Linked DNA regions of Homo sapiens: all the other regions are linked to region 1. The links are contacts of gene promoters, found by promoter capture Hi-C in blood cells and fetal thymus (Javierre and others, 2016). All regions are on one chromosome and are shown on one strand. The core of a region is centred on a gene start or on the middle of the fragment in contact, and the rest is flanking DNA. Distances in the headings are between cores, read along the strand shown. Region 1 holds the start of RPS16 (ribosomal protein S16). Region 2 has its middle 13 kb from the start of SYCN. Region 3 holds the start of IFNL3 (interferon lambda 3). Region 4 overlaps LRFN1 (leucine rich repeat and fibronectin type III domain containing 1).

Region 1 (7,532 bases), core at 4,026-6,525:
CCCTTCAGTTCTCTGGGCCTCAGTTTCCTCATCTGTAAATAGGGCTCTGGATAATCCCAACCGTAAGGCCTGACACTATCCCATGCTGTACTTATGTGCAAGCTAGAAAAAGACACTCAGCTGGGCACAGTGGCTCATGCCTGTAATCCCAGCTCTTTGAGAGGCCAAGGCAGGAAGATCACTTGAGCCCAGGTGTCCAAAACCAGCCTGGGCAACACAGCGACACCCCATATCTACAAAAAAAAAAAAAAAAAAAAAAAGGTCGGGCACGGTGGCTCACGCCTGTAATCCCAGCACTTTGGGAGGTTGAGGCAGGTGGATCACGAGGTCAAGAGATCGAGAACATCCTGGCCAACATGGTGAAACCCTGTCTCTACTAAAAATACAAAAATTAGCTGGGCATGGTGGCACATGCCTGTAGTCCCAGCTACTCGGGAGGCTGAGGCAGAAGAATTGCTTCAACCCAGGACGCAGAGGTTGCAGTGAGCAGAGATCACGCCACTGCACTCCAGCTGGCAACAGAGCAACACTGTGTCTCAAAAAAAAAAAAAAAAAATTAGCCATTAGCTATTTGTGGTGTCACGTGTATGTGGTCCCAGCTACTCTGGAGGCTGAGGTGGGAGGATTGCTTGAGCCTAAAAGGTCAAGACTGCAGTGAGCTGTGATTGTGCCACTGCACTCCAGCGTAGGGGACAGAGCAAGACCCTGTCTCAAAAAAAAGAAAATAAAAAGACCTTCCTTAAGTTCCTTCTACCTTCTAAGTCTTGATTTTATTAGAACAAGATACTTTACTGCCATCTGCCGCAAGTTGGCAAATATGCAAATCTACAATATCCAGCCTGTGAATATAGTACTGTCTTTGTAGATGTGGGATCCTTGTGCAGTGTACAACATTCACATCCATACATGGTGGTCCTATCTATCTTATAGGATTGGTGTACAGAGTAAATAAGCTAACATACTTAAAGCATTTAAACCAATACCTGGCACAGAGTAAACACTATTTACATGCAGCTGTAGTCATCATCATCATTTGTTATTATATACCTCCCTATTCTAGGTGTTGGAGACAGCAGTGAGCAAAATATATCTGTCAAGGCTAGGGGCTGGGTCAGGAGATAGTCCCACTACTTCCTCCCCGCAACATATTCATATGGTCACACAGCAGCCCTCACACATGGAGACCACTGAATTCTCTCAAAACCTGCAACTGCAGAAAGAAGCGAATGCAATACTCACTGAGAGATCATCTGGGGTGTAGAGGGTGTCATCATTTTTGTTTTCCTACAGTTCAGGGGTAAGGAGGAGAATCAGATCTTGGAGGGAAAGAGGCTGACCCTTCCTCAAACACACCCCCTACCACGCCCCATCAATTGGCCCACCCCGTCTGCTGGCTCTGCTCCCCACTCGCTGGTATCTTCAGAGGGCTGCAAGGAAGTAAAAAGGCTCCCTCCAGCAGAGGGGCGGGCGTTCCTAGGCCCTCCCAGGGCTGTACAAGCAGGAGGATGATCCACAGAAGCAACATGGGCACCTTGCTCACTCCCAGGCCTTCTCTGGTGCTTGGCCTGGGGTTCTGGAAGAGAGAGGTACAGGAAGGGGGAGCAGACTGGAAGGCTGAAGTGGATGAGGGGAACTCCCCCGCCACCCCTCATCCCATCCCCTGCTTGCTCCACTCAAGCCACAGATAATTCAGGGAGTGTGCCCATAGAGGCTGGGGAAAGATGGTGACCCCAAAGTCAGGAGGGCTTAGGTCAGAGCGCTCCCTGACTCCCAAGCTCAGGGACGATACGAGACTTAGCAAATGTGTGAAGATCAATCTGGAGAGACGAGAGAACCTGAACTCCCCTGCCCAACAGGCCCTTAAGACAGTGCAGGCTAGGCCAACCGCTGTGGCTCACACCTGTAATCCCAGAACCTTGGGAGGCCGAGGTGGGCGGATCACTTGAGGTAAGGAGTTCAAGACCAGCCTGGCCAACACGATGGAACCCTGTCTCTACTAAAAAATACAAAAATTAGTGGCCAGGCACAGTGGCTCACACTTGTAATCCCAGCACTTTGGGAGGCCGAGGCAAGTGGATCACTTGAGGTCAGGAGTTCAAGACTAGTCTGCCCAGCATAGTGAAACCCTGTCTCTACTAATAAATACAAAAATTAGCTGGGCATGGTGGTGCATGCCTTTAATCCCAGCTACTTGGAAGGCTGATGCAGGAGAATTGCTTGAACCCAGGAAGCTGACGTTGCAGTGAGCTGAGATCAAGCCACTGCCCTCCAGTCTGGGCGACAGAGCGATACTCCATCTCAAAAAAAAAAAAGAAAAATTATTAGTCAAGCATAGTGGTGGAGGCCCGTGATCTGGGCTACTCAGGAGTCTGAAGCAGGAGAATCTGTAATCTCAGCTACTCCAGAGTCTGAAGCAGGACAATCACTTGAACCGGGGAGGTGGAGGTTGCAGTGAGCTCAGATTGCATCACTGCATTCCAGCCTGGGTGACACAGACTCTATCTCAATTTAAAAAAAAAAAAAGAAAAAGTACAGGTAGAATGTGTGCATCCTCTCATCTGCCTGTGTCTTCATTGGAAAACACCTGTGCTAGCCTTTATCTGTGTCTGCAAGTGAATATTTGAGGTCTCTGCTCTATTTATTTTATTTTATTTATTTATTTTTGAGACAGAGTTTATTTATTTATTTATTTTTGAGACAGAGTCTTGCTCTGGCGCCCAGCCTAGGGTGCAGTGGCGACATCTCAGCTCACTGCAACCTCCGCCTCCCGGGTTCAAGCGGTTCTCCTGCCTCAGCCTCCCTTGTGGCTGGGATACAGGCACCTGCCACCATGCCCAGCTGATTTTTGTATTTTTAGTAAAGGCGGGGTTTCACCATGTTGGCCAGGCTGGTCTTGAACCCTGGGCTCGAGTGATCCTGCTGCCTTGGCCTCCCAAAGTGCTGGGATTATAGGTGTGAGCCACTGCACCTGGCCTCTGTCTCAAGTATTTTGGAAACATCATGCCTGCCTTTATCTCTTTTTTGTCTGAGGGTTGGCCTCTCTGCCTCTAAATCTGTCACTGGGCTTGTTTTGGGGGTCCATCTCTTGACTGTCCTGGTCTCTCCCTTTTCTCCTCCTCTTCTCCCTTGGCCTTTCATCTTTCTCTTCTTCTCCACTTGTGCCTACATTTCTTTGGGCTGTGTCTGTGTCCCTCCCGGTCAGCCTCTGGGTACTTCCTTCCTCCCTCCCAACAGCCCCCTCCCCCCTCACCCTTTTAGAGCTGGACTCCGGGCTGGCTTTTCCCTCTGGCCCCAGACCTGCCCTCCAGTGTCTCCCTGTCTCCACCCTCTTTGGCAAGGTGCACCACGACGCCCTTTTGAACCCTGGATCCCAGACCCTGTACTGCCAGAGAAACTGAGGCAACTGTGGGCTCCCTCTAGCTCTGAGAGAGGAACCTCTTCGCTGGGGAGACTCTTGATGGGGTGAGACGCAGGGACATCTGCCGGGGAACCAGAGGACAACCCAATCCTGGGGTTCCTCAGGTGGGGTTGGGGGGCTGGGGATGGAGAATTCTGTGGGGAGGAGGCTTAAGTGGAGGGTGATTTGGGGGAGAGGAAAAAGATGACTGGGAGATTCTGGAGAAAGAGATTCTAGGGGCTGGGCGCGGTGGCTCACGCCTGTAATCCCAGCACTTTGGGAGGCTGAGATGAGTGGATCATTTGATGTCAGGAGTTCGAGACCAGTCTGGCCAATATGGTGAAACCCCGTCTCTACTACAAATACAAAAATTAGCCGGGCGTGGTGGTGCATGCCTGTAATCTCAGCTACTCAAGAGGCTGAGGCAGGAGAATCGCTTTAACCGGGGAGGCAGAGGTTGCAGTGAGCAGAGATCATGCCACTGCACTCCAGCCTGGGCGACAGAGCAGGACTCTGTCTCAAAAAAAAGAAAAAAAAAAAACAAAAAACAGAGAGATTCGGCCGGGCGTGGTGGCTCACGCCTGTAATCCCAGGACTCTGGGAGGCTGAGGCGGATCACATCACCTGAGGTCAGGAGTTCGAGACCAGCCTGGCCAACGTGGTGAAACCCCATTTCTACTAAAAATACAAAAAACGACCAGGGCGTGGTGGTAGACGCCTGTAATTCCAGCTACTCGGGAGCCTAAGGCAGGAGAATCTCTTGAACCCGGGAGGCGGAGGTTGCAGTGAGACGAGATCGCACCACTGCACTCTAGCCAGGGCAACGAGCGAAACTCCGTCTCAAAAAAAAGAGAGAGATTCTAGGGTGGGGACGGGGAAGAGGTTAATTCTTGGGGGAGGGTCTCTTAGGAGAGGGGGATTCTAACGGAGGGAAAACTCCAGGGAAGGCAGTTGCTGGGAAGAGGAGTCTCGGAAGGGAAATAAACTCAGGAGAAAGGTAGATTTTGAGGGACGGGTCTCTGAGAGAAAAGTTTTTGTGGATTTGCGGGGCGGGGTGTTCTGGGAAAGGGGGATTTGCCGGGAAAGGGGGATTTGCCGGGAAAGGGAGATTCTGGAGGAGGGAGATTCCAGGGGTACTGGGTCCTGACAAGAGAAAGATTCTGGGAAGGGTGACTGAGGGGACGAGGACCGAATGGAGGGAGATTCAGGGAAAAGGGGGGTCTAAGTTGAGCACTCTTAAGAGGGACATTTGGGGTTGGCCATCTGAGAGAAGGATGGGAAACATTCTGGGAAGAGGAAACTGAAAGGAAGGACATTCTGGTGAAAGGGAGATTCTGAGGGGAAGGGGCTCTGAGGGGAAAAGGATTCTGGGAGAGGATCCCCAAGGAGGGGGATTCTAGGGAGGATAGGATTCTGGAAGTCCTTAATCTGAGAATCCAGCCAGATTTCTTGCAGTAGATTCCAAAGGAAGATTCTGATGCGGGGGATTCGGGGAGGAGGGAGTCCAGAGGGGAGAAAGATTACAGGTGTTGGGAGGGTGGGAACTGATTTAAAGAAAGGGCGAAGGGAGATTATTAAAGAGCCAGAATGCAAAGAAGAGCTGCGGTAGTCGACTACAGAGGACGCGAAGCACACTCCCGCAGCCTTCCCTTCAGTCCGCACACGACACTCCCAGGCCCCGCCCCTTCCGCCCACAGAGCCCGCCACTTCCGCCTCACAGGGCCCGCCCGCTCTGAGCGCCTAAGGGCCTTCCCGCCGCTGACCAGACGCCCCGCCCGTTAGCCGCAACAGAAGCCGTAAAGCTCTCTCCCGTCGCGACGCAGTGCTCAAGGCGCCTGCGCAGACCCTGAAAAGCGGCCAGGGTGGCCCCTAGCTTTCCTTTTCCGGTTGCGGCGCCGCGCGGTGAGGTTGTCTAGTCCACGCTCGGAGCCATGCCGTCCAAGGGCCCGCTGCAGTCTGTGCAGGTCTTCGGACGCAAGGTGAGCCAGACGCCGGATGGGAAGGGGAGGGGAAGGAGAAGGCCAGGGTCTGGGAGAGGTCGGTGGGCAGGAATCTAGGGGGTAACATGGGAGCTGGAGCCGGAGCTCACGGGGCCCCTGTTTCTCTTGTATCTTACAGAAGACAGCGACAGCTGTGGCGCACTGCAAACGCGGCAATGGTCTCATCAAGGTGAACGGGCGGCCCCTGGAGATGATTGAGCCGCGCACGCTACAGTACAAGGTGCTGGGATCCGGCACCGGCGTTGAGTGGATGGAGGACTCTTGGAGACAGAGATGTTGTAGCTCTTGAAAGCTGGGGGGGCTGGCATCAGCAACGGGATGTTTAGAAGTTGTGTTGGGTGTAGAACAGTGGGGTATTTGGCAATAGAGCTGGGCTTGGGGTTCAGAAGATGTAAAAGCTGAGATGGGGTTGTTGAAGATTAAGGGTTTGCTTTGAGAACTGGGATGTTAGGAAGCTCACCTCACTGGGGCGGGGGGACCCAAAGGGTGAAGGGACACCGACTATTTTTTATTTTATTTATTTGTTTTGAGAGGGAGTCTCGCTGTGTCGCCCAGGCTGGAGTGTAGTGGCGCGATCTCGGATCACTGCAACCTTCGCCTCCCGGGTTAAAGCGATTCTCCTGCCTCAGCCTCTTGAGTAGCTGAGATTACAGGCATGCACCACCACGCCCGGCTAATTTTTGTATTTTTAGTAGAGACGGGGTTTCGCCATATTGGCCAGAGTGGTCTCGAACTCATTACCTCAGGTGATCCACCAGCCTCGGCCTCCCGAAGTGCTGGGATTGCAGGCGTCAGCCACCGTGTGCGGCCGAATTTGGGTCTGTTTAAATGCTTGCTTGTAAAAGGGGTTCCTCTGTTCCCTTTTTGGGACTCTCAATTTCTTTGGCTCAGAATGGAAAGAAACCAGAGTCTGATTTCTGCCCCTTCTGAACTCTACTACTTTTAAAAGAAAGAATATCTACATTGCAGGGTCAGTTAAAAAAATTTTTTTTGAGTTATAAGGTTCTTTTTTAAAAACAGTATCTTGCTGTCACCTACCCTGGAGTGCAATAGCACAATCCTAATGAACTGCAGCCTTAAACTCCTGAGTTGGAGATCCTCCCACCTCAGCCTTTCGGTTGCCAAGACTACAGGCACATCACCACGCCTGGCTCATTTGAGAAATATTTTTCTGTAGACGTGGGGTCTCACTTTATTGCCCAGGCTGGTCCTTGGTCTCATGTGATCCTTCTGCCTGGACTGGGATTACAGGTGTGATCACCATGCCTGGCCTAGAATTTAATAAAAATTCTGAGATTTCCTTTGTGTAGCAGATGTTGAATGTTACTGTTATTGGCTGTCACTGTATTTGAAGGATTTGTATGTGTACCCTCTGTTGAGTTTTGGGGACATAGCAGTGATCCAGATGACTTAAGGTCTTGCCTTCATGGACCTGCCAGCCTAGTTGGGGAGAAGGACTGGGCCCAATACCAGAAGCTGATCCAAAGTGGTCAGAACTGGGGAAGGAGACCTGTGAGCTGAAAGCAGGTAAAGGAAGTATCCAGACAGAGGCACTGGTAAAAGACCTGGAGCTGGGAAGGGTCTAGGGACCAGGGACAGGTTGTACTGTAATTCTGGAAACCTGTGAGGCTCAAAGAAAGGGCAGAGAGCTCAGGTGGGAAATAGAAAAGGCACCTGAACAGTCCAGGGATGGCTTTCGACTACTTGAAACAGCCTTGGGAGTTTCAGAAGCTATTGGAATGCTCCTTACTGTTCAGCCTTCTAAGAACCAGTCTTAGAGGTAGGGTGTCTGAGGTCCAGTGAGGGACACAAGTAGGAGGGAGCCCAGATCTTGTTCCCTTTACCTTGCCTATATTTCTTAACACCACTTCAGCAGTCTCATATCTGGCTTTTTTGACTTTCCTCTTCTCTGGGTCTGTAGAGGGCCTTGGAGTGACACCCTGACCCCCATCCACTAGTACTTGAAGGCCAGTGGTGGCAGAAGCCACAGAAACAAGAAGCCCAGTGAGATGGCTAAGCTGCCCAGCATGTAACTTAAATCCCTGTTCATTCCCCATTCCTTTAGCTGCTGGAGCCAGTTCTGCTTCTCGGCAAGGAGCGATTTGCTGGTGTAGACATCCGTGTCCGTGTAAAGG
Region 2 (7,787 bases), core at 3,901-6,400, 220 kb after region 1:
TCAAGACCAGCCTGGCCAACCTGGCAAAACCCAGTCTCTACTAAAAAATTCAAAAATGAGTCGGACATGGTGGCAGGTGCCTGTAATCCCAGCCTCTCAGGAGGCTGAGACAGGGAGAATTGCTTGAACCTGGGAGGTGGAGGTTGCAGTGAGCCAAGATCGTGCTACTGAACTCCAGCTTGGGTGACAGACTGGGACTCCATCTCAAAAACAGAAACAGGCTGGGTGCAGTGGCTCACGCCTGTAATCCCAGCACTTTGGGAGGCCAAGGCGGGCGGATCACGAGGTCAAGAGATCGAGACCATCCTGGCTAACATGGTGAAACCCCCATCTCTACTAAAAATACAAAAATTAGCTGGGCGTCCTGGTGCCCGCCTGTAATCCCAGCTACTTGGGAGGCTGAGGCAGGAGAATCACTTGAACCCAGAAGGTGGAAGTTGCAGTGAGCCAAGGTCACACCACTGCACTCCAGCCTGGCGACAGAGCAAGACCCTGTCTCAAAAATATATATATAAAATAAAATTAAAAAAAAAACAGAAACAAAAACAAAAAATCAAAAACACTGGACTACCCCAGGGCTCAGCCCCAGCCTTCTCCCGCATCTATCTGTGATGCAGTTGTCTATTCTCATGGTTTAAAACCCAACCCCACTGCTACAGTGATGACTCCTGGGGAAGATCCAGTTACTGATGCAAATTCTTCACCCCTCCCTCCATCTATACCCTCGCCACGGACTTGCCAAAGGCAGAGTGTACTTCTGTGCCCTTTGATGTTGGATCTGGCCATGTGACTGTTTTAAGCCCATGACATTGATGTCCAGAAGTGAACACCTGAGGCAGGTCATGTCCCTCCCCTGCTCAGAATCTGCCCATGGCTCCATGTCACTCAGGGTAAAGGGAGTGACCCGAATCATTCACTTTATATATTTAGTGACAAAGACCTTACGTGAGGCCCCCATGACCTGCCCCTGTGACCACTCTGACCTCATCTCCTCCCTTTCTCCGTCTACCTCTGTCCACTCCTTGCTATTCCTCAAATATTCCTTTGCACTGGCTGTTCCCTCTACCTCGAATGCTCTTCCCCCAGTATCACCATGTCTCCCTCCTTCTCCTCCTCGAGTCTTCGACCAAATGCTTCTGCATGAGGGTCCCCTGATCACGCTATTCAAAAGGGCACCCGCCTCACTCCATCCTCCCTCCCGGCTGTACTTGTCTCCATAGCACCTACTGGGCATGGCATTCAATCACTGCAATTATTATTATTATTATTATTATTATTATTATGAGACAGGGTCTCATTCTGTTGCACAGGCTACAGTGCAGTGGCACATTCTCAGCTCACTGCAGCCTCCACCTCCTGGGTTCAAGCAACTCTCATGCCTCAGTGTCCTGAGTAGCTGGGACTACAGGCACACACCACCACACCCAGCTAATATTTCTGGTACTTTTAGTAGAGATGAGGTTTCACCATGTTGACCAGGCTGGTCTCGAACTCCTGGCCTCATGCAATCTGCCCGCCTCAGCCTCCCAAGTTTCGAGGATTACAGGTGTGAGCCACCGTGCCTGGCAACTACATTTATTTTAAATTGTTTATTGCCTGTCTCCCTCTACTGGAGTGTAATCTCCACAAGGGCAACGTTTTCATCTACTTTATGAAGTCACTTGTAAAATTTTAAAATGTGGCTGGGCGTGGTGGCTCACGCCTGTAATCCTAGCACTTTGGGAGGCTGAGGCAGGCGGATCACAAGGTCAGGAGTTCGAGACCAGCCTTGCCAACATGGTGAAACCCCGTCTCTATTAAAAAATACAAAAATAAGCAGGGCATGGTGGCGTGTGCCTGTAATCCCAGCTACTTGGGAGGCTGAGGCAGGAGAATCGGTTGGACCCGGGAAGTGGAGGTTGCAGTGAGCCAAGATCACGCCACTGCACTCCAGCCTGGGTGACGGAGCAAGACTCTGTCTCAGAAAGGAAAAAAAAAAAAAGGGAGAGAGTGGTGTGACCTGTGTCATCTGGGAATGAAGCTTTAAGCACTAAGTGCCGGTGCCTATCCCACCTGCTTTTCCCTGGGATCAGAGACTGGCAATGAGCCAGGGATTAGCTGCTCTCTCAGCCTGGGTGAGGACAATGACAAGCACAGCACCAAAGTGTCCTGGGATGAGCACACGGTGTAAGCAGGCAATCAGCCTTCGCAGGCGTAAGCCGCTGAGACTTGAGGTCATTTGTTACTGCAGGAAAATGCAGCCCATTTTGATGGACTCATTGTCCCATAGGGTAGCTATGAAGATAAAAGAACACGTGTGTAAGGCTATTAGCGGAGAGTCCGGCATGCAATAAAGATGCACATGCCGGTAGTTGTTATTGGTATTCTTTTTATTACTGCCATTTTTATCATTCTTTTTATTACTACTACTTCTTTTTTTTTTTTTTTTTGAGACAGGGTCTTGCTGTGTTGCCCAGGCTGGAATGCAATGGTGCAATTATAGCTCACTGCAGCCTGGATCGCCTGGGCTCAAGTGATGCTCCCACCTCAGCCTCCCCAGTAGCAGGGGCTGTTCCCTCTCTACAGCAACCACACCGGGCTAATTTTTAAATTTTTAGTAGCAACAGGGTCTTACTATGTTGCCCAGGCTGGTCTCAAACTCCCGGGCTCAAGCAATCCTCCTGGCTTGGCCTCCGAAAGTACTGGGATTATAGGTGTGAACCACCACACCCAGCCTACTACTACTTTTGAGCAAAGTGACACCAGTCACTCGAATCTGCCCCTTGCCTACTGGAAGTCCCCTCTCCCAGCCCCCCAGAATCATTTTGGTTCCCTGAAGGACTTCAGCCAACACCCACCTTCGCAGGGGATCTCCTCCCCCAGTTATATCTCTTAGGGAATAAGGGAGATTTTAGGGCAGAGTTACTGTTTTCATTTCCTGTGCCTGCTGTAACCAATGGCAATGCACTTAGTGGCTTACAACACCACAGATGTGTTCTTTCAGCTGTGGAGGTCAGACGTCTGACTTGGGTCTTACAAGATTAAAATTAAGATGTCAGCAGGATTGGTTCCTTACGGAAGCCCCAGTGGAGAATCCATGCTCTTGACCTTTTCAGCTTCTTTTTTTTTTTTTTTTTTTCCTTTTTGTGCTGGAGTCTTGTTCTGTTGCCCAGGCTGGAGTGCAGTGGCACGATCTCAGCTCACTGCAACCTCTGCCTCCTGGGTTCGAGCAATTCTCCTGCCTCAGCCTCCAGAGTAGAGGGGATTACAGGCATGCACCACCATGCCTGGCTAATTTTTGTATTTTTTAGTAGAAATGGGGTTTCGCCATGTTGGACAGGCTGGTCTTGAACTCCTGGCCTCAAGTGATCTGCCTGCCTTGACTTCCCAAAGTGCTGGGATTACAGGTGTGAACCACCCTGCTCAGCCGACCTTTTCAGCTTCCAGTGTTGGCCTGCGTTCCTTGGCTCGTGGCCTCCTCCATCTTCAAATAACATCTCTCCAACCTCTGCTTCCATCCTCACCTTGCCTCCTCCTCTGTAGCCAAATCTTCCTCTGCCTCCCTCTTCTAGGGAGCCTAGTGATTCCATTTAGGGTCCACCCAGATCTTCCAGGACAACCTCTGATTGAACGATCCTGAACTCAATCACGTCTGTGAAGTTTCTTTTGCCAAATAAGGTCACCCACAGGTTCCGGGATATCTTGAAAGCCATTATCAGTGACCACACCCCCCTTCTTTCTACTGTACCCAGATTGTAGAAAGGCTGGATTCCACTTTTTCCTGGACATCTATGTCCTCTCTGACTCTGTCATCCCTTCAATGTGCTTCTTATTCCTTCAATCTGTGACATGGCCTCAATATCTGTTCTTCCTTCAGTAATAGGAAATTTGATTTGTGACCAGGCATACAGCTAACCCAAGGCCAGATCTTTTTTTTTTTTTTTTTTTTTTTTGAGATGGAGTCTCGCACTGTCGCCCGGGCTAGAGTGCAGTGGTGCGATCTCAGCTCACTGCAACCTCTGCCTCCTGGGTTCAAACAATTCTTCTGCCTCAGCCTCCTGAGTAGCTGGGATTACAGGCACCTGCCACCATGCCCAGCTAATTTTTTGTATTTTTAGTAGAGATGGGGTTTCACCACTTTGGCCAGGCTGGTCTTGAACTCCTAACCTCGTAATCCGCCTGCCTCGGCCTCCCAAAGTGCTGGGATTACAGGTGTGAGCCACTGCGCCTGGCCTAGATCCATCTTTTTGAGGCATTGAGTGCCCATCTCTAGCTAAGTTCTGGCAGCAAGATGTAGACAGGAGTGTCATGTACCATGCTCCTGGAAGAGCATTTCCTTCTTCTTCCCTCCCTCCCTTCCTCCACATGTTGACTGGGATGTAGATGGGAAGGATGGAGCTCAAGCAGCCATATTGGGCCACAAGAAAAAGCCACATTTGATGCTGGAGCAACAAGACAGAAGGAGCCTGGGCCCTGACACTGGAGCCCCAGACAGCCTTGGTAGCTGTCTCCCTTCATATGAAAGACAAGAATACTCCTCATTTGTAAAACAAAATACTAATTTTTGGGCAGAATAACAGCCCCCCGAGGTGTCCTCAGAACTAGCGAATATATTATGTTACACAGCAAGGAAGAGTTAAGGTTGCAGATGGAATTAAAGTCACTAATCATTATTTTATTTTATTTTTTTGAGACAGTCTCACTCTGTCACCCAGGTTGGAGTGCAGCGGTGTGACCTTGGCTCACTACAGCCTCTGTCTCCCGGGCTCAAGCGATTCTCATGCCTCAGCCTCCTGAGTAGCTGGGACTACAGGTGCATGCCACCACGTCCAGCTAATTTTTTGTATTCTTAGTAGAGATGGGGTTTCACCATATTGGCCAGGCTGGTCTCAAACTCCTGACCTCAAGTGATCTGCCCGCCTCGGCTTCCCAAAGTGCTGGGATTACAGGCATAAGCCACCACGCATGTCCCATTGATTTTAAAATAAGGAAATTGGGCATGGTGGCACGTGCCTGTAATCCCAGCTACTTGGGAGGCTGGCTGAGGCAGGAGAATTTCTTGAACCTGGAAGGCTGAGGTTGCAGTGAGCTGAGATCATGCCACTGCACTCCAGCCTGGGCGACAGAGCAACACTCCATCTCAAAAAAAAAGAAAAGAAAAGAAATTGACTATGCAACCAGGCTCAGTGTATCCTGGAGCTGAGTGGCTAAAAACATGGACTCTAGGCTGGGTGCGGTGGTTCATGCCTGTAGTCCCAGCACTTTGGGAGGCTGAGGCTGGAGGATCACTTGAGCCCAGGAGTTTGAGACCAGCCTGGGCAACATAGCAAGATTCTGTTTCTACAAAAATATGCAAAAATTAGCCAGGTGTGGTGGTGCATACCTGTAGTCCCGGCTACTCAGGCAGCTGAGGCAGGAGGATTGCTTGAGCCTGGGTAATCAAGACTGCAGTGAGTGGTGATCACACCACTGCCCTCCAGCCTGGGCAACAGAGTAAGACTCCGTGTCTTTAAAACAAAAAACAACAACAACAAAGGAAATTATCCTGGATTATGTGGGTAGGACCAGAGTAATTGTAAGGATCCCTTAAAGTGGAAGAGCAGGCAGCAGAAAAGGACAGAGTCATAGAGGGATTTAAAGATTCTCTGTTGCTGACTTCAACAAGGAAGGGGCCACAAGCTAAGGAATGCAAGTGGCCTCTAGAATCTGGAAAATGCAAGAAACAGGATTCTCCCCTGGAGCCTCCAGAAGGAAGGCAGCCCGATGACACCTTGATTTTAGCCAAAGGAGACTCATTTTGGACTTCCAACCTCCAGGACTGTGAGATAATGAATCTGTGTTGTTGTAAAGCACTGTTTGCAATCATTTGTTACGGCAGCAATAGGAAACTGATTCATAATTAATCCAAACTTCTTGCTTGAATCTTTCTCTGACTCTAAAGCTCCTGATTAATAAGAATAATAATAATCACACTTTGGGAAGTTGAGGCAGGTGGATCACCTAACATCAGGAGCTCGGGACCACCTTGGCCAATATAGGGAAACCCCATCTCTATTTTAAAAAATACAAAAATTAGCCAGGTGTGGTAGTGCACACCTATAATTTCAGCTACTCAGGAGGCTGAGGCAGGAGAATTGCTTGAACCCGGGAGGTGGAGGTTGCAGTGAGGTGAGATCGCGCCACCGCACTCCAGCCTGGGCAACAGAGTGTGACTCTGTCTCAAAATAAATAAATAAATTAAATAATAATCAAAACCATCATCCATGTCAGTAAACACACTGAGCACTTTCCATGTGCCTGAAATAACCTCAACCCACTATACTTTTTGCTTATGTAAGACACACAACAATCCCACAAAAAAAGTGTAAAGCCTTAAATACAAATGTGGGAAAAGGAACGAGGCTGAAAATAAGCCAGCTAACCATCTATCTTAAATGTGAGGAAAAGAACAGCACGCAAAACTCAAAGAAAAGGGCCAGGCATGGTGGCTCATGCCTGTAATCCCAGCACTTTGGGAGGCCAAGGTGGGTGGATCACTTGAAGTCAGGAGTTCAAGACCAGCCTGGGCAACATGGTGAAACCCCATCTCTACTAAAACTACAAAAAATTAGCTGGGCATGGTGGCACATGCCTGTAGTCCCAGCTACTTGGGAGGCTGAGGCAGGAGAATCCCTTGAACTTGGGAGGCGGAGGTTGCAGTGAGCTGAGATCGCACCACTGCACTCCAGCTTGGATGACAGAGCGAGACCCCGTTTCAAAAACAAACAAACAAACAAACAAACAAAAAACTCAAAGGAAAAAAGAATAAAGAAAGCAAGCATGAAAGATATAATAGGCTGGGAGCAGCGCTTCACCCCTGAAATCCCAGTGCTTTAGCAGGCCGAGGCAGGAGGATCACTTGAGCCCAGGAGATTGAAAGCAGCTTGGCAACACAGTGAGTGATCCCATCTCTACAAAAAGAAAAAATATTAGCTGGGCATGGTGGCATGCACCCATAGTCCCAGCTACTGGGAAGGCTGAGACAGGAGGATTGCTTGGGCCCAAGAGTTCAAGAACAGCCTGGGCAACAGAGTGAGACCCAGCTGTACTAAAAAAAAAAAAAAATAGCTGGGTATGGTGGCACATTCTCAGATACTCTGGAGGCTGAGGCAGGAGGATTGCTTGAACCCAGGAGGTTGAGGCTGCAATTAGCTGTGATCATACCACTGCACTCCAGCCTGGGTGACAGAGCAACACCTTAACTCAAAACAAACAAACAAAAAAAAGGTATAATAACCAAATCCACAATGGTAACTAATGCTATTTATCATTAATGAAATAAGATCAAATTAAAGAAACAAATGTACAATAGGAGAACCCGAACCCACAAAGCCAACTGTTAGTTATCATTGGCGAAGAGTCTAATAAAGATGTTGCAATTATAAGGCCAGATGCGGTGGCTCATGCCTGTAATCTCAGTACTTTGGGAGGCTGAGGCGGGTGGATCACTTGAGGTCAGGAGCTCGAGATCAGCCCCTGGCCAACATGGTGAAACCCTGTTTCTACTAAAAATACAAAAGTTAGCCAGGTGTGGTGGCGGGTGCCTGTAATACCAGCTACTCAGGGGGCTGAGGCACGAGAATCACTTAAACCCAGGAGGCAGAGGTTGCAGTGAGCCGAGATTGCACCACTGCACTCCAGCCTGAGCAACAAGAGCAAAACTCCATCTAAAAAAAAAAAAGTTTTGCAATTATAAATCAAAACTGATAGAGAAAAAATGAGGTCAGGCGTGGTGGCTCACACCTGTAATCCCAGCACTTTGTGAGGCT
Region 3 (7,787 bases), core at 2,686-5,185, 190 kb after region 1:
AAGCTTGCCCTGGACGGGAAAGCCCGGCTGCAAACCCCATTCTCAGCCCTGCGCATAAAAGCCAGCATGGACCGTCGAGGCACTGTTGCCCAGGTGGAGACGGCTCTGGACGCCTCCCAGGGGACAGTGGACGGCAGCACCTGCTGCAGCACGAGGCACAGAGGGTGCACTGCAGACAGGAGTGAGGGCAGAGGCCAAGGCGAGGAGGGGGCCGGCTCCCACTCTCTCTCCCACTGTGTGTGCTGTGCCTTCACGCTCCGAGCATTGCCTTCCCTGGGATCCTAACCCAAGGCGGGGGGCTGGACGCGCTGGACCCTCTCTTTGGCTTCCCTGACGTCTCTCGCCTGCTGCAGAAGCAGAGATGCGGCCGAGTGTCTGGGCCGCAGTGGCCGCGGGGCTGTGGGTCCTGTGCACGGTGATCGCAGAAGGCCCCCCGGCGCTGCCTGCTCTCGCACTACCGCTCGCTGGAGCCCCGGACGCTGGCGGCTGCCAAGGCGCTGAGGGACCGCTACGTAAGTCACCGCCCAGCCCCTGTGCCCCCTGGGACCCTGGCCCCACCGGGTTCCCATACACCCGTTCCTGTCCCAAGGGGTCCTGCGTCCTAGCGCCCAGCAGGCGCCTCTCCTATGTCAGCGCCCACAATTCCCACCACGAGACCCCCGCAGTCCCCGTCGTCAGCGCGAACGCAGGCTCAGGGTCAATCACAGAAGGGAGCCCTGCCGGGAGGACTCGGCTCCAGGTCGGGGCGAGGGGCTTTGCTGGGGGAGCGCGGAGTGCAATTCAACCCTGGTTCGCGCCTTCGGGGAGCTCCCTGGTTCAGTACACGACAGGCACGACCGTGCGCTGCCAGTACCCATCCACGTCCAGGAATCCCAGACTGTGCAGAGGTTAGGGGCCCTGGCGAGGGGGCCTAGCCGTATGCGATAAGCGCCGCTTGTCCCGCAGGAGGAAGAGGCGCTGAGCTGGGGGCAGCGCAACTGCTCCTTCCGCCCCAGGAGGGATCCTCCGCGGCCATCGGTGAGGCCCGGGAGTGGGCGGGAGAGGCATGGCCCGGGCGCGGCCCGCTCTAACGCCCTCTCGTCCCCGCAGTCCTGCGCTCGGCTCCGCCACGTGGCCCGGGGCATCGCGGACGCCCAGGCAGTGCTCAGCGGCCTGCACCGCTCGGAGCTGCTCCCCGGCGCCGGCCCGATCCTGGAGCTGCTGGCGGCCGCGGGGAGGGATGTGGCGGCCTGCGTGAGTGACGGCCGCGCCCCGCCGCCCCTCTCCCCCGCCAGCTTCTCTGCATCCTCAGGCCCACGGCGAGCCCCAGCGCTTTGCCAATCTGTCCTGCTTAGCGGAAAAACCCATCCAGACCGGAGTCGGGTCCTCTGGGTGTCCTGAAATCCGGGCTCGAGTCTGCGGCTGGGAGGGCCACGGGCAGATGCAGAGAGGGGCTTCGTCCTTCGCCTTTTCCATTTGCCTCATGTCCCACCTCCAGCTTGAGCTGGCACGGCCAGGCTCCTCCAGGAAGGTCCCCGGGGCCCAGAAGAGGCGTCACAAACCCCGGAGAGCGGTGAGTGCAACAGGCAATACAGGGTTAGCCCGCAGGGAGGACCAGGCGAGGCTGACAAGGACGGGACTGAGGCTGCGAGCAGCGGGACTGGAGGGGGATTCCGGGGGCGGGGGGAAGAGCCTGGCTTAGCCCCGCTGCCCTCCCTCCCTGGCTCCAGGACTCGCCTCGGTGCCGCAAAGCCAGCGTGGTCTTCAACCTCCTGCGCCTGCTCACGTGGGAGCTCCGGCTGGCTGCACACTCTGGGCCTTGCCTCTGACCCCGCCCCCTCTGGCAGCACGGAAACCTCCACGCCATTGGCTGCCGAAAGCAGCTCCTGTCGTCCATTGGGCTGGCCGGGCGAGGCTCTCAGTCAATGGGTGCTGAGGCACGAAAACTTCTTCGCAGCCTTGGGCCTGACTTGGATCCACTGTCTCAGATATAAGAGGAGCGGGTCCTTCTACAGGGAAGAGACCACAGTTCTCCAGGAAGCCACGATATTTCCTCGGGGTGCATTGTACGACCCTCCAACGGTTGCTGTGGCAGGAAAAAACTTGAGCTCTGGAAACCGTGGCTGACCCCAGGCAACAGGGACCAGTTCCTCCTTGTGTGGTTACCAGGACACCCCCAACACCAGGTCCTAACCCCGGATTTGTAGCCCCACAGCCAGCTTTGAGATTCTGTGAATCCGTGACTCTTGGATCCGGCATCTAAGGGACACCAATCCATGAGGGATTTGGTAGTGAAAGGCCCAAGGGTCCTTAACCGACTGTGGTTCTTTGGATTCCCTTACGTGTGTTTGTATTTGTGAAGTTCCTGTGCATTTGCTATTCTGTCTCCCGGTTTAAATTTATTGCCAGTTATCAAAGAGTGTTTTGATCGCATTGGTTGTTTTCCGTATGATGATTGTGAGGTGCACCTTACAGCAAAAAAAGAGGCCGAGCCAGGGACTCAGGTGGCCTGAGTTTCAGTTCTGACCCTGCCAGTTAATTACAGTGGAATTCAGGGCAAATTACTTTTCTGAGCCTCTGTTTCCTCACCTATAGGATGGGTTAGCATACTTGCCTTGTGGAGGAGTAGTGTCCGTTGAGATCACGTTTTAAACTCTCCAGCTGAGGTCCTAGTATGGTCTTAATGAGTGGATTCTATTAAATAATCACTCACATAAATACACAAACAATTGTGTTATTAATTTTTTCTCCAAATCTGTGCATTAGCAATCTGCGTTGCTGAATGCACCCCTCCTTGCCAAGGTCACACGGCTAGTGAGGGTCAGAACCAGGTTTGAACCCCAGACCCTTCATCTCCAAGACCCATGCTCTTCACCACTGCCTGAACTTCCCTAAGAAAGACGGCACCCACGTGGTGTCCTTCAAGTCCTTCGTCACACCTCAATTCTTGAGCAGAGCCTCATATTCCTGAGTCCTTCCTTGCCTGGGCAATTAAGAAATATTGGCCTCTGGGCATGGTGGCTCACACTGAAATCCCAGCAATTTGGGAGGCCTAGACAGAGAGATGACTTGACATCAGGAATTTGAGACCAGCCTTGCCAACATGGTGAAACGCCATCTCTACTAAAAATATAAAAATTAGCTGGGAATGGTGGCACAAATCTGTAATCTCAGCTACTTGGGAGGCTAAGGCAAGAGAATTGCTTGAACCCAGGAGGCGGAGGTTGCAGTTAGCCAAGATTTTGCACTGCACTCCAGCCTGGGTGACCGAACAAGACCCTGTCTCAAAATATATATATATATATATATATATATATGCCAGGAGTGGTGGCTCAGGCCTGTAATCTCAGCACTTTAATAGGCTGGGTGAGGAGGATGGCTTGAGCCCAGGAGTTTGAGGCTGCAGTGAGCTGTGATCATGCCATTGCACTGCAGTGACAGAGTGAGACCCTGTCTTAAACAACAACAAAACCAGAGCAGGTGGAATCCTCTTGGGAACATACCTTCCTGTAGGTTACCCCTGAGTCTCCATCAGTTTCTCTTTCCCTCCAGCTGCTCATCTGGCTCACTAGCCCTGCCCTGCTCTGGGCTTTCCCAGCCTGGGGCTCCCCTGGTGGCCGGTGTCTTACCTGAGGCTGTGTTTTCACTTTTCCTACATCAGCTGGGACTGCCCTTCTGTCAGGGATAAAAGCTGCCCCATGGAGCTCAGGCAGGAATTACATCCCAGACAGAGCTCAAAACTGACAGAAAGAGTCAAAGCCAGGACACAGTCTGAGATCCAGAAGAGGGGACTGAAAAGAACAGAGACTCCAGACAAGACCCAAACAGACCCTGGGTGACAGCCTCAGAGTGTTTCTTCTGCTGACAAAGACCAGAGATCAGGAATGAAACTAGGTGAGTCCCACATCTCTGTCCGTGCTCAGCTCCTGCAGCCCCTGCCCTCAGTGGGCAGCCTCTGCATTCCCTCAGCTCCCTTTCTCTCTGTGACACAGACATGACCGGGGACTGCATGCCAGTGCTGGTGCTGATGGCCGCAGTGCTGACCGTGACTGGAGCAGTTCCTGTCGCCAGGCTCCGCGGGGCTCTCCCGGATGCAAGGGGCTGCCACATAGCCCAGTTCAAGTCCCTGTCTCCACAGGAGCTGCAGGCCTTTAAGAGGGCCAAAGATGCCTTAGTGAGTCTCCCCCTGCCCTCCTGCCATGGACTAGCCTCCACCCGCACTCCAAGGGTCACCATGCTTTCCCACTCCCAGCTTCCTTCACTGGGCTAGCCTCCACCCTCCCTGCAGTGGGCTATCTCATGCTCCTACTGCAGGGACTGACTCATGTTTTCCTGAAGAAGAGGGTCCTCTACCATCCTCCCAGCAGTTAACCTCCCCTATCCTGTTGTCAGCCATCCTCCAATCCCATCAGAGTGGTCTAACCTCCACCCCTCCTGCTGGGGCTAACCTGTGCCTTTGCTGTCTAGGAAGAGTCGCTTCTGCTGAAGGACTGCAAGTGCCGCTCCCGCCTCTTCCCCAGGACCTGGGACCTGAGGCAGCTGCAGGTGAGAGGGGGAGTCAGGCCCACCCCTGCCCTCCCAGCCCTGCTCACCTGGCTCTGTAGTGGCCCCTTCACCTTCTCCTTCTCCATTGTCCCTCTCTCCTCTCCCCACACCTGCTACCCCTTCCCTCTGCTCCTACCTGACCACACTGGCTGTGCCCTCTCCCCTGTGCCTGTCACCTTCACTTGTTCCTCTCTATCCTCCTCCCCCAACCTGTTCCCCTCACCTCCCCCCTCACCTGCTCTTTCTCACCTCTCCTCAGGTGAGGGAGCGCCCCGTGGCTTTGGAGGCTGAGCTGGCCCTGACGCTGAAGGTTCTGGAGGCCACCGCTGACACTGACCCAGCCCTGGGGGATGTCTTGGACCAGCCCCTTCACACCCTGCACCATATCCTCTCCCAGCTCCGGGCCTGTGTGAGTCGTCAGGGCCCGGGCACCCAGGTCTGTGAGCTCTGAGCAGCGTCCTTCCCCTGGCCAAGGCCCCGGCTCACACACCGCCCTCCTCTGCCCACAGATCCAGCCTCAGCCCACGGCAGGGCCCAGGACCCGGGGCCGCCTCCACCATTGGCTGCACCGGCTCCAGGAGGCCCCAAAAAAGGTGAGTGACCCGGGAAGAGAGGGACTGAGGTCTGGGGAGCCACTGGGAGCCCAGAACCCAGACAGCCCCTGACCCATCCCCTCCTCCCTACAGGAGTCCCCTGGCTGCCTCGAGGCCTCTGTCACCTTCAACCTCTTCCGCCTCCTCACGCGAGACCTGAATTGTGTTGCCAGCGGGGACCTGTGTGTCTGACCCTTCCGCCAGTCATGCAACCTGAGATTTTATTTATAAATTAGCCACTTGGCTTAATTTATTGTCACCCAGTCGCTATTTATGTATTTGTGTATGTAAATCCAACTCACCTCCAGGAAAATGTTTATTTTTCTACTTTTTGAAATCCTTGTTGAAATAAACAATGAGGAAAAGACACCCATGACGTGGGACTGTGTGTGCGTTGGTGTGTATTTCCTTTGCATTGCTGCCATAACAAATTACCCTAAAAGTAGCATCTAGAACAGCAGGTTCATTGAGTCTGTGCTGTCCACTGGGGTCCCCAGGTCACATGTCACTATCGAGCACCTGGAATGTAGGTGGTGCAACCTCATTTTTTCAGTGAGTGTAAAACATACCCCAGAATTTGAAGATTTACTGTGGAGAAAAAAAAAAAAGTAAAACAGCTTAATTATAATTTATATATTCATTAGATGTTGAAATGATAGCACTTTGGATGTATTGGGTGAAATGAAGCATCTTTAAAATTAATTTAGAGCCTGGATGTGATTGCTCAAGCCTGTAATCACAGCACTTTGGGTGGCTGAGTTGGGAGGATCACTTGAGCCCAGACCAGCCTGGGCAACATAGCAAGATCCTGTCTCTATAAAAAATTAGAGAATTGGCTGGGTGTGGTGGCACAAGCCCATAATCCCAGCTACTGGTGGAAGCTGAGATGGGAGGACTGTTTGAGGTCAGGAGTTCACGACCAGCCTGAGCAACAGCAAGATCCTGTCTCTTGCGTGATCACATCTCACTGTAGCCTCAAACTCCTGGGCTCAAGTGATTCTCTCTCCTCGGCACCATCCTCCACCCTCTCCAGCCCCTCCCCGAACTGGGATTACAGGCTTGAGTCACCGGGTCCAGCCCATTCTCTTTCCAAGAAGCCCCTGAATTGTATAAGCAAACATGAGGTCTCACTAACCCTGGATAAGCCCCTACAGATGAGGAGGACAACTTGGATCAGGGACCCCTGCTGAGTAGAGTTGGCTGAGCTGCTGGAACAAAGAGTCCCCCAAATACAGTGATCATGAATTACAAACCACAGAGTGTCATTCTCCACCAGCTCCTCCTCCCAAGGTGAGCGCTCCCCCTGGCAGGATGGCCCCACTCAGTCATCCAGGGGCCCTGGTTCCTGGCAGTTCTGTGCTCCACAGTCCCCGGGACAGGGCTCCCTCATCATCTTCACCCACCGGACCTCACGGCAGCCTTGAAAAGCCTACGGACCCTTCTCAGAAGGAAAGAACACGTGCAGGACAAAGGAATCCAACTCTGATTGTAATACAGTGATCAAAATATTTTTTCACACTGTGACATAGCAATTCATGTGCTTCTTCATGAATGCATTAAGTAAAAAATCACCTGTGGCAGCTTTAATAACCACTGTGACTTAGAAGCAGAGATGAGCATAAATGACATTTCAAGGTGCCTGCTGGAAGATAACGTGATAGGAAATGCCTGTGATTTCTTTTGGTAACAGTCACAAGTTCTGCTAACACTGCTGTGGTGTGTTGCTGCATTTGTAATGGATTCGTGCTAGATGCAAGACTGGTCCCCAGAGATGTTCCTGATTCCTGGACCTGGGAATATGTTATGTTCCATGGCACGAGGGACTCTGCAGATGTGAGTAAGTTAAGGGTTTGGGATGGGGGCGTTATCCTGGGTTGTCCACCTGGACCCAATGTCATCACAAAAGTCCTTCTAAGAAGGAGGCCGGGGTCAGCATCATTAGCGGAAGATGTAACCACAGAAACAGGACATTGGAGTGATGTCAGGAAGGGAACCGGGGTCAAGGGATGCTGGACACCCCCAGAGGCTGAGAAAGGAGAGAGATCTCCCCTGCTGCTTCCAGAAGGAACCCGCTCTGCTGACATCTTGACTGTCAGAACTGTAGGAATAGAAATGTGCATGCATTTTGTTTTGTTCTTTTTGTTCAGGTAATTTAAATATTTTTTTTAATTGTGGGAAACCCACAAAATGTACCATCTTATCCTTTCTAAAGCACATTGTTCAGTAGTGCAATTTTATTATTTATTTATTCTATTTTTTTTTTTTTGAGACAGGACCTTGCTCTGTCACCCTGGCTGGAGGGCACTGGCATGATCATAGCTCATTGCAGCCTCGACCTCCTAGGCTCAAGTGATCCTCCCACCTCAGCCTCCTGAGTAGCTGAGACTACAGGTGTGTGCCATTAGCCAGTCAGATGCCTGGCTAATTACTGTATTTTTAGTAGAGATGGGGTTTTGCCATGTTGGCCAGGTTGGTCTCGAACTCCTGACCTCAAGTGATCTGCCCCCCTTGGCCTCCCAAAGTGCCGGGATTACAGGTCTGGTCCTAGTGGTGTTTGCTACATTGTTCGGCAAGCAATCTCCAGAACTCTCTTCATCTTACAAAATTGAATCTCTGTACCCATTAAACAACAACTTCCTATTAACCCCTCCCGCTACCCCGGCAAATATT
Region 4 (7,787 bases), core at 2,840-5,339, 130 kb after region 1:
TTCTGCAGCCAATTAGAGACACTTGGGCTGAAGCTTTCTTAAGGAGCCAGCCTCTGTCCTTGAAAAGGGGTGGGGGAAGCCCCTAGCAACTGGCTATTTAGGGGAAGGAGCAAGTGGAATCCAGGGCTCTGGAGAGGAGAGATGAAGAGAGGAGGAGGAAGGCTTAAAGCCAGGGCAGCCGAGGGTGGCTGGGGTGGGTGGCAGTGGTCTTTGAAATGGCAGTCAGGGGTGGGTAGAGTGGAGTTGGAGAAGTGGGTGGACCTTTATGAAGGGGCGGGGCCCTGATTGGAAGTCTTTTGGTGGGAGGGTGGCTCTTGGTAGTGGGAGAACCTCCTGGAGGTGGGATGACAGAGGTGGAGCTTCAGGGCCAGAAGGTGGCTCTGCTGGAGGGGAAGCGGAAGCATCGGAGAGATAAGCAGGCCTTCGGAGGTGGGGATGTGGCCTGTCAGAGGGGGTGGAGCTTGTTCTGCATGGTCCCACGAAGAGGAAGGGGCAGTCCTTGTCTCCCGGGACCCACCAAGAGTCTTTGCTGGAGAAGAGAGCTTGTGAGGTTGCATCCTGGCCATGCCAATCAATGTGGAACGGGCAGTCCAGGTTTAGCTGAGGCTGGACATGGCCCACAGTGTGGAAACGATGTGCTCAACAGAAGAGGGCCAAGGCCTAGCAGGAATGGCCCTCCAGAGGGGTAGATCTTATAGATGGGAGGAATGCAATGGGCTGGATAGTGTGAGCCACAGCAAGGGTTACTGGCCAACACGAGGTGTGATGCAAGCTAATGATGATATCATTAAGTGCCAGGTCCTGGCTGTGTTAACTCATTCATTCCTCACACCATCTCTATGATGTAGGAATTATTATCATCCCCATTTGGGGAAAATGAGACACAGGGAGGTTAAGAAACTTGGCGAAGTTCGCCGGGCGTGGTGGTTCATGACTGTAATCCCAGCACTTTGGGAGATCGAGGCGGATGGATCACCTGAGGTCAGAAGTTTGAGACCAGCTTGGCCAACGTGGCGAAACCCCATCTCTACTAAAAATACAAAAATTAGCCAGGTGTGGTGGTGGGTGCCTGTAATCTCAGCTGTCCGGGAGGCTGAGGCAGGAGAATCACTTGAACCCGGAAGGCAGAGATTGCAGTGAGCCGAGATCGCGTCATTGTACTCCAGCCTGGGTGACACAGCGAGAGTCTGTCTCAAACAAAACAAAATGAAACAAAAGAGAAACTTGCCTGAGGTCACAGAGCAAGCAAGTGGCAGAGGAGAGACTCAAACCCGGGCAATCTGGCCCCCAGCCTTTGTCATCTTAACCACTTCTCTACACTAGTCTTCATTCGAGGGGAGGGGCCTACAGCAAGAAAGGAATATGGTGTGTGCTTGGCTACGTTTGACCCCTTTACGGAAGAAACTTACCTGGTAGCGTGATTTGGTGACTTCTGGTGGCACATGAACATATGAGGTGGTTGCCTTTAATATCTGGACAAGGAGCAGGGCCTGTAGTCTGGATGTGGCCTATACACAGTAGGGGAACCATCCTTAGTGGGCCATTGTGGGGTGTGCCTGGAAGCCACATTTCATTTGGTTGGGGAATGGCCTGTAGCAATGTCAGGGAACATGTAGTTAAGGGACTTGGAAACTGTTCCAGGACATAGACAAAGCTAGATGGTTTTTTTTTTTTTTTTTTTTTTTTTTTTTGGTTTGTTTGTTTTTTGAGACAGAGTCTCGGTCTTGCGGTCTTGTAGCCCAAGCTAGAGTGCAATGATGTGGTCTCGGCTCACTGCAACCTCCACCTCCCGGGTTCAAGCGATTTTCCTGCCTCAGCCTCCCGAGTAGCTAGGATTACAGGTGCCTGCCACCACGCCTGGCTAATTTTTGTATTTTTAATAGAGACAGGGTTACCATGTTGGCCAGGCCAGTCTTGAACTCCTAACCTCAGGTGATCCACCCTTCTTAGCCTTCCAAAGTGTTGGGATTACAGGCGTGAGCCACTGCAGCCGGCCAAAGCTAGATGTTTTACCCAAAGGTGCTGCATGCAGATAAGGGGGAGCGACCTGCATCATGGTTTTCCCTGAAAGGCAGGAATATGTATAAAAGAGGAACTAGAAGAGCATCCATTGTTCCAGTAGGAATATGACAGGCGCTGTGAGCTGACCTTAGTGTCCACCTGAGTGGGGGATGGGGCATGCAGAAAAGGGGAGGTGGCCAGTAGCGTTGGCCCAGTTTTGGGGTAGAAATGCCTAGATGAAGGACCTTGAATGGCAGTTGTCCTAGCAAGAGTGAGACATAGCTAGGGAGCATGTCCCTTGAGGGCAGGGCTTAAAAGCCATAGCACTTCTCCCCTGCAGGGGCCGGGATATGCAGAGGAGGTAATACGAATGATAGATATATTGTCCCAGTGGGTGATGGGACACAGCCAGGAGGTGGGTCTGAGGGCGGGGCATACAGATGAGGGGTGTGAAAGGGTGGGAATATGTTGATGGAGGCGGGGCTTGAATTGCTGCTGTTGTCTCAGTAGCGGCTGAGACTTCGATAGCAGGGTTTAGTCCCCACTGTTCACCATGGGCGGGGCATAAAGCGAAGGGGCGTGGTTCGGGGGGACTAACCCCGCCCTGAACCCGCCCCCTCCTACAGGATGATCCCGTCCACCAGTCAGACCTTCCTGGTGAATGACCTGGCGGCGGGCCGTGCCTACGACTTGTGCGTGCTGGCGGTCTACGACGACGGGGCCACAGCGCTGCCGGCAACGCGAGTGGTGGGCTGTGTACAGTTCACCACCGCTGGGGATCCGGCGCCCTGCCGCCCGCTGAGGGCCCATTTCTTGGGCGGCACCATGATCATCGCCATCGGGGGCGTCATCGTCGCCTCGGTCCTCGTCTTCATCGTTCTGCTCATGATCCGCTATAAGGTGTATGGCGACGGGGACAGCCGCCGCGTCAAGGGCTCCAGGTCGCTCCCGCGGGTCAGCCACGTGTGCTCGCAGACCAACGGCGCAGGCACAGGCGCGGCACAGGCCCCGGCCCTGCCGGCCCAGGACCACTACGAGGCGCTGCGCGAGGTGGAGTCCCAGGCTGCCCCCGCCGTCGCCGTCGAGGCCAAGGCCATGGAGGCCGAGACGGCATCCGCGGAGCCGGAGGTGGTCCTTGGACGTTCTCTGGGCGGCTCGGCCACCTCGCTGTGCCTGCTGCCATCCGAGGAAACTTCCGGGGAGGAGTCTCGGGCCGCGGTGGGCCCTCGAAGGAGCCGATCCGGCGCCCTGGAGCCACCAACCTCGGCGCCCCCTACTCTAGCTCTAGTTCCTGGGGGAGCCGCGGCCCGGCCGAGGCCGCAGCAGCGCTATTCGTTCGACGGGGACTACGGGGCACTATTCCAGAGCCACAGTTACCCGCGCCGCGCCCGGCGGACAAAGCGCCACCGGTCCACGCCGCACCTGGACGGGGCTGGAGGGGGCGCGGCCGGGGAGGATGGAGACCTGGGGCTGGGCTCCGCCAGGGCGTGCCTGGCTTTCACCAGCACCGAGTGGATGCTGGAGAGTACCGTGTGAGCGGCGGGCGGGCGCCGGGACGCCTGGGTGCCGCAGACCAAACGCCCAGCCGCACGGACGCTGGGGCGGGACTGGGAGAAAGCGCAGCGCCAAGACATTGGACCAGAGTGGAGACGCGCCCTTGTCCCCGGGAGGGGGCGGGGCAGCCTCGGGCTGCGGCTCGAGGCCACGCCCCCGTGCCCAGGGCGGGGTTCGGGGACCGGCTGCCGGCCTCCCTTCCCCTATGGACTCCTCGACCCCCCTCCTACCCCTCCCCTCGCGCGCTCGCGGACCTCGCTGGAGCCGGTGCCTTACACAGCGAAGCGCGGGGAGGGGCAGGGCCCCCTGACACTGCAGCACTGAGACACGAGCCCCCTCCCCCAGCCCGTCACCCGGGGCCGGGGCGAGGGGCCCATTTCTTGTATCTGGCTGGACTAGATCCTATTCTGTCCCGCGGCGGCCTCCAAAGCCTCCCACCCCACCCCACGCACATTCCTGGTCCGGTCGGGTCTGGCTTGGGGTCCCCCTTTCTCTGTTTCCCTCGTTTGTCTCTATCCCGCCCTCTTGTCGTCTCTCTGTAGTGCCTGTCTTTCCCTATTTGCCTCTCCTTTCTCTCTGTCCTGTCGTCTCTTGTCCCTCGGCCCTCCCTGGTTTTGTCTAGTCTCCCTGTCTCTCCTGATTTCTTCTCTTTACTCATTCTCCCGGGCAGGTCCCACTGGAAGGACCAGACTCTCCCAAATAAATCCCCACACGAACAAAATCCAAAACCAAATCCCCCTCCCTACCGGAGCCGGGACCCTCCGCCGCAGCAGAATTAAACTTTTTTCTGTGTCTGAGGCCCTGCTGACCTGTGTGTGTGTCTGTATGTGTGTCCGCGTGTAGTGTGTGTGTGTGTGTGTGTGTGTGTGTGTGTGTGTGTGTGTTGGGGGAGGGTGACCTAGATTGCAGCATAAGGACTCTAAGTGAGACTGAAGGAAGATGGGAAGATGACTAACTGGGGCCGGAGGAGACTGGCAGACAGGCTTTTATCCTCTGAGAGACTTAGAGGTGGGGAATAATCACAAAAATAAAATGATCATAATAGCTAACGCTTAGTGAATACTTACTTACTATGTGCCAAGCACTTAAGTCATTTAATTCTCACAACACCAGGACATATCGGTATTATTATCCTGTTTTCCAGATGAGGGAATTTTGGCCCAGAAAAGTTAAATAACTGGCCCAAGGTGGTAAAACTGGGATTTAAAAAGGCAGGCAGGCCAACTTCTGAGTCTCTACTATAGGGGTGAAAAGACAGCTTCCCCTTCACTCTCTGAAATTTCACTGGAATGGGCTGACAATAGATTAACAAGAGAAAAGGAATATGGAGGGTATTTAACATGCACTAGGAAAATCACAGGAAAGTGATTACCCAATAACCCAGTGAGGTTTATATACTTATATACCTTTCTTCACAGGAGGGGAGATGGGGAAAGGAAGGCAATTTTGAGGGGTAATAAATGATTTTGGGGAAAATAAATGGGTCCAGGAGATAGAATTTAGCTTGTAAATGTCTCTGGAATTTGAGACTGACAGACAGATAATTTCTTGTGACAAAGTCCGTCCAGGTGTAGACATTTCTCTGTCTTTTTTTCCTGTTAAAGATAATGAAATGTCAGGGAGAGGACAGAAGGCACTTGTGTTCTTTTTGATCTTTAGGCAGATAAGAAGACATAGGAGGAAAGCCTCTTCCAGCATCTATGGATCTCTAAGTGCCTTTAATTTAAAATAATCAGCATACCAGGGTGCCATATTTTGGGGTGACATTCCCTGAACTCCTTTAATACTCAACTAGAGCACTGTACTGCTGAGCAGTTATTGAATATTCATTCCACCCTCTGAGACCTCACAACTCAGTGGGGTAGGGTAGATCTATCCTTGGTCCCATTTTACAGACAAGAACCTGAACCACAGAGAGATGAAGTCACTTGCCGTAGTCCCTCCATCCCCCCAATGAATAAATAGCGGAGCTGGAAGTTTGATTGTACCCCTACACTATGCTGCCTCTGGGGTCTGTGTCCGGAAGCTGGGGTATGGCCCCCATGAGCTTAGCTGAGCTTGGATATCCACAGCTAGCCTGGTGAGCTCAGGGACAAGACCTCTTGTGTCGCTCTGCCTGGAATCTGAGGGACCCTGGCGGAGGGCATGGAGGATGGTGTGGGGAGAGGAGTTTCTCAGGTGAGGCTGAGGGCTGTGGCTGGGGAAGGAAAGCTGGTTGGGGAGAGGAGAGGGACAGACATCCCAGTCCTTGCAGGGGCCCTGCAGTGATAACACCTTCCTGATCTTGGGGAAGAAGGAGGAAGGCTTCTTGCCAGCCAGGGGCCCCCTGAGGCCAGGGGAGGAGGAGAGAAAGACAGAAATAGAAACGGAGCAGGAGGGAGGGGGATGGATCTAGGCAGACAGGGTGGGAGGCTGCTAGGACAGAGGCACCAGAGAATCACAGGCCAGGAGGCTTCCTCACCCAGGAGCCCAACCACCCTCATTTGTGTCAGTCATGACGACTCCTAGGTACTGAGGGCTTTTCACAAGCCAGGCACAGTGCTCCCAAACCCTCCCTGATGCACGGATAAAGAGCATGCAACCCAGTGCATGGCACATAATGCTTAGGAAATGGAGTTACTCCAATAATAAGTATGACTGCATTTAAAGCCTGCACAGGTATATGCAGTGTGTGCACACAATTTTCAAGATGAGGAAACTGAAGCTCAGAGAGGTTAAGGAGCATCTCCAAGATCACACAGCCAGTTAACAGCAGAGCCATGATTGGAAAGCTGACTGCCTCCAACCTGCACACAGAACCATCAGGAATCTTGTCTCTAATTCACTTGATAAAGCATTATTGAGCATGTATTATGTAACTGGTCCTATGTAGGGGCTATCGCAGTGAACAAAATAGATGAAACAAAACAAGAAAGCCCTGCTCCGTGGTGCCTATATTCTAGAGGGAGGAGAAATAAACAAATAAGCAATTAAATGAGTCCAGGAGGTTGAGGCTGCAATGAGCCCTGATTGCACCACTGCACTCCAGCCTGTGTGGCAGAGTGAGACCCAAAAAACAAGCAAACAAAAACGAGTAAATAATGCATGTCCAGTGGCAAATAAATGTTGTGCCAAGAATGAAAACAGGATGATGGCATAGAGAATGACTTTGAGGCCTACTTTAGGTGGGAGGGTGAAGGATGGTGATGACAGAGCTAAATAAATGCATTGTGAGAAAAGCAGGGAAAAGCATTCCTGGCAAAGGGAACAGCATGTGCAAAGACCCTTAGGAAGTAGTGTGCTTGATGTGTTGGAGGCAGTGTGTCTGGACTGAAGTGGGAAGAGTGAGAGGAGAGTAGGTGGGAGAAGCAAGTGGGTTCTACAGAACCTTGTGAGGTGTGGTCAAGAGTTAACATTTTATTCTTTGGGGCCATGGGAAGCCAATGAAGGGTCTTTACCAGGGGTGGTATGTGGTCTGATTTCTATGGAGACCCCAGCTTTGGGGTGAGGTATGCCTACCTTCAAAACAGAATTGGGGGTGGGTGCAGTGACTGACACGTAATCCCAGCACTTTGGGAGGCCAAGGTGGGAGGATCGCCTGAGGTCAGGAGTTCGAGACCAGGCTCGCCAACATGGTGAAACCCTATCTCTACTAAAAATACAAAAATCAGCTGGGCATGGTGGGTGCCTGTGATTTCAGCTACTTGAAAGGCTGAGGCAGGAGAATCACTTGAGATTACATCACTGCATTCCAGCCTGGGTGACAGAGTGAGACTCCGTCTCAAAAATAAAAAAAAAAAGAAAAAGTTGTGGGGTGATTGCAAAGCTACAAGGAACAGAGCTTTAGAGAAAGGAACCCAGACTCAACCCCACCAAGACACTCTCCCTACACAGCTCTCTTCTCTGCTTGGCTCAGCTCAGACTCATCCCTTTCAACTGCATGTGGCGGGGGAAAATGGTCATTTATTTACAGACACAGACTCAATCTTTCCAGAGCCCAGAGATAAAATGGCAGAATCTCTAGTCCTAAGAGAAAAATCTCAGGGAAGAGCTCTTATCGGCCTGGCCGAGGTCACATAGCAACCCCTGCACTGATTGCCGCATCCAAGGGAATGAATGGAATGCTTTGATTGGCCAGGTAGGGGGTGGGTGGGTCCTATGTCCCGGTTGTGTGTCCTGGGAAGTAGGGATTGCTAAATATTAGGTTGAACCACATGAACTTGCCATTTTTGTAGGTCACACATTGTATAGTA

Evidence for each region. The method cuts DNA at HindIII sites, captures the fragments that hold promoters and counts their contacts. A CHiCAGO score of 5 or more calls a contact.
Region 2: a fragment that was not itself captured here is called in contact with the fragment with the promoter of RPS16 in region 1 in 1 of 17 cell types (neutrophils); the score reaches 7.2 in neutrophils.
Region 3: the fragment with the promoter of IFNL3 here is called in contact with the fragment with the promoter of RPS16 in region 1 in 1 of 17 cell types (neutrophils); the score reaches 7.8 in neutrophils.
Region 4: a fragment that was not itself captured here is called in contact with the fragment with the promoter of RPS16 in region 1 in 1 of 17 cell types (neutrophils); the score reaches 5.0 in neutrophils.

Annotation. Positions count from the first base shown.
Region 1 is chr19:39,433,692-39,441,223 of GRCh38, reverse strand. RPS16 (ribosomal protein S16) reads left to right here and starts at 5,275. Exons shown (of 5, transcript NM_001020.6): 1 at 5,275-5,376; 2 at 5,516-5,617; 3 at 7,463-7,532. The coding sequence starts at 5,329. RefSeq lists enhancers at 3,070-3,838, 5,502-6,081 and a silencer at 5,022-5,121. The HindIII fragment of the contact is 27,347 bases long and covers 1-7,532 here.
Region 2 is chr19:39,213,135-39,220,921 of GRCh38, reverse strand. No RefSeq gene overlaps it. Among named protein-coding and RNA genes, the nearest start is that of SYCN, 13 kb to the right of the region's middle. The HindIII fragment of the contact is 6,255 bases long and covers 2,023-7,787 here.
Region 3 is chr19:39,241,154-39,248,940 of GRCh38, reverse strand. IFNL3 (interferon lambda 3) reads left to right here and starts at 3,935. Exons shown (of 5, transcript NM_172139.4): 1 at 3,935-4,153; 2 at 4,447-4,524; 3 at 4,784-4,933; 4 at 5,034-5,117; 5 at 5,211-5,388. The coding sequence starts at 3,974. The coding sequence ends at 5,309. It also overlaps the pseudogene IFNL4. The HindIII fragment of the contact is 30,036 bases long and covers 6-7,787 here.
Region 4 is chr19:39,303,383-39,311,169 of GRCh38, reverse strand. LRFN1 (leucine rich repeat and fibronectin type III domain containing 1) reads left to right here. Exons shown (of 5, transcript NM_020862.2): 5 at 2,628-4,604. The coding sequence ends at 3,537. Among named protein-coding and RNA genes, the nearest start is that of IFNL1, 11 kb to the right of the region's middle. RefSeq lists an enhancer at 2,842-3,343. The HindIII fragment of the contact is 8,108 bases long and covers 36-7,787 here.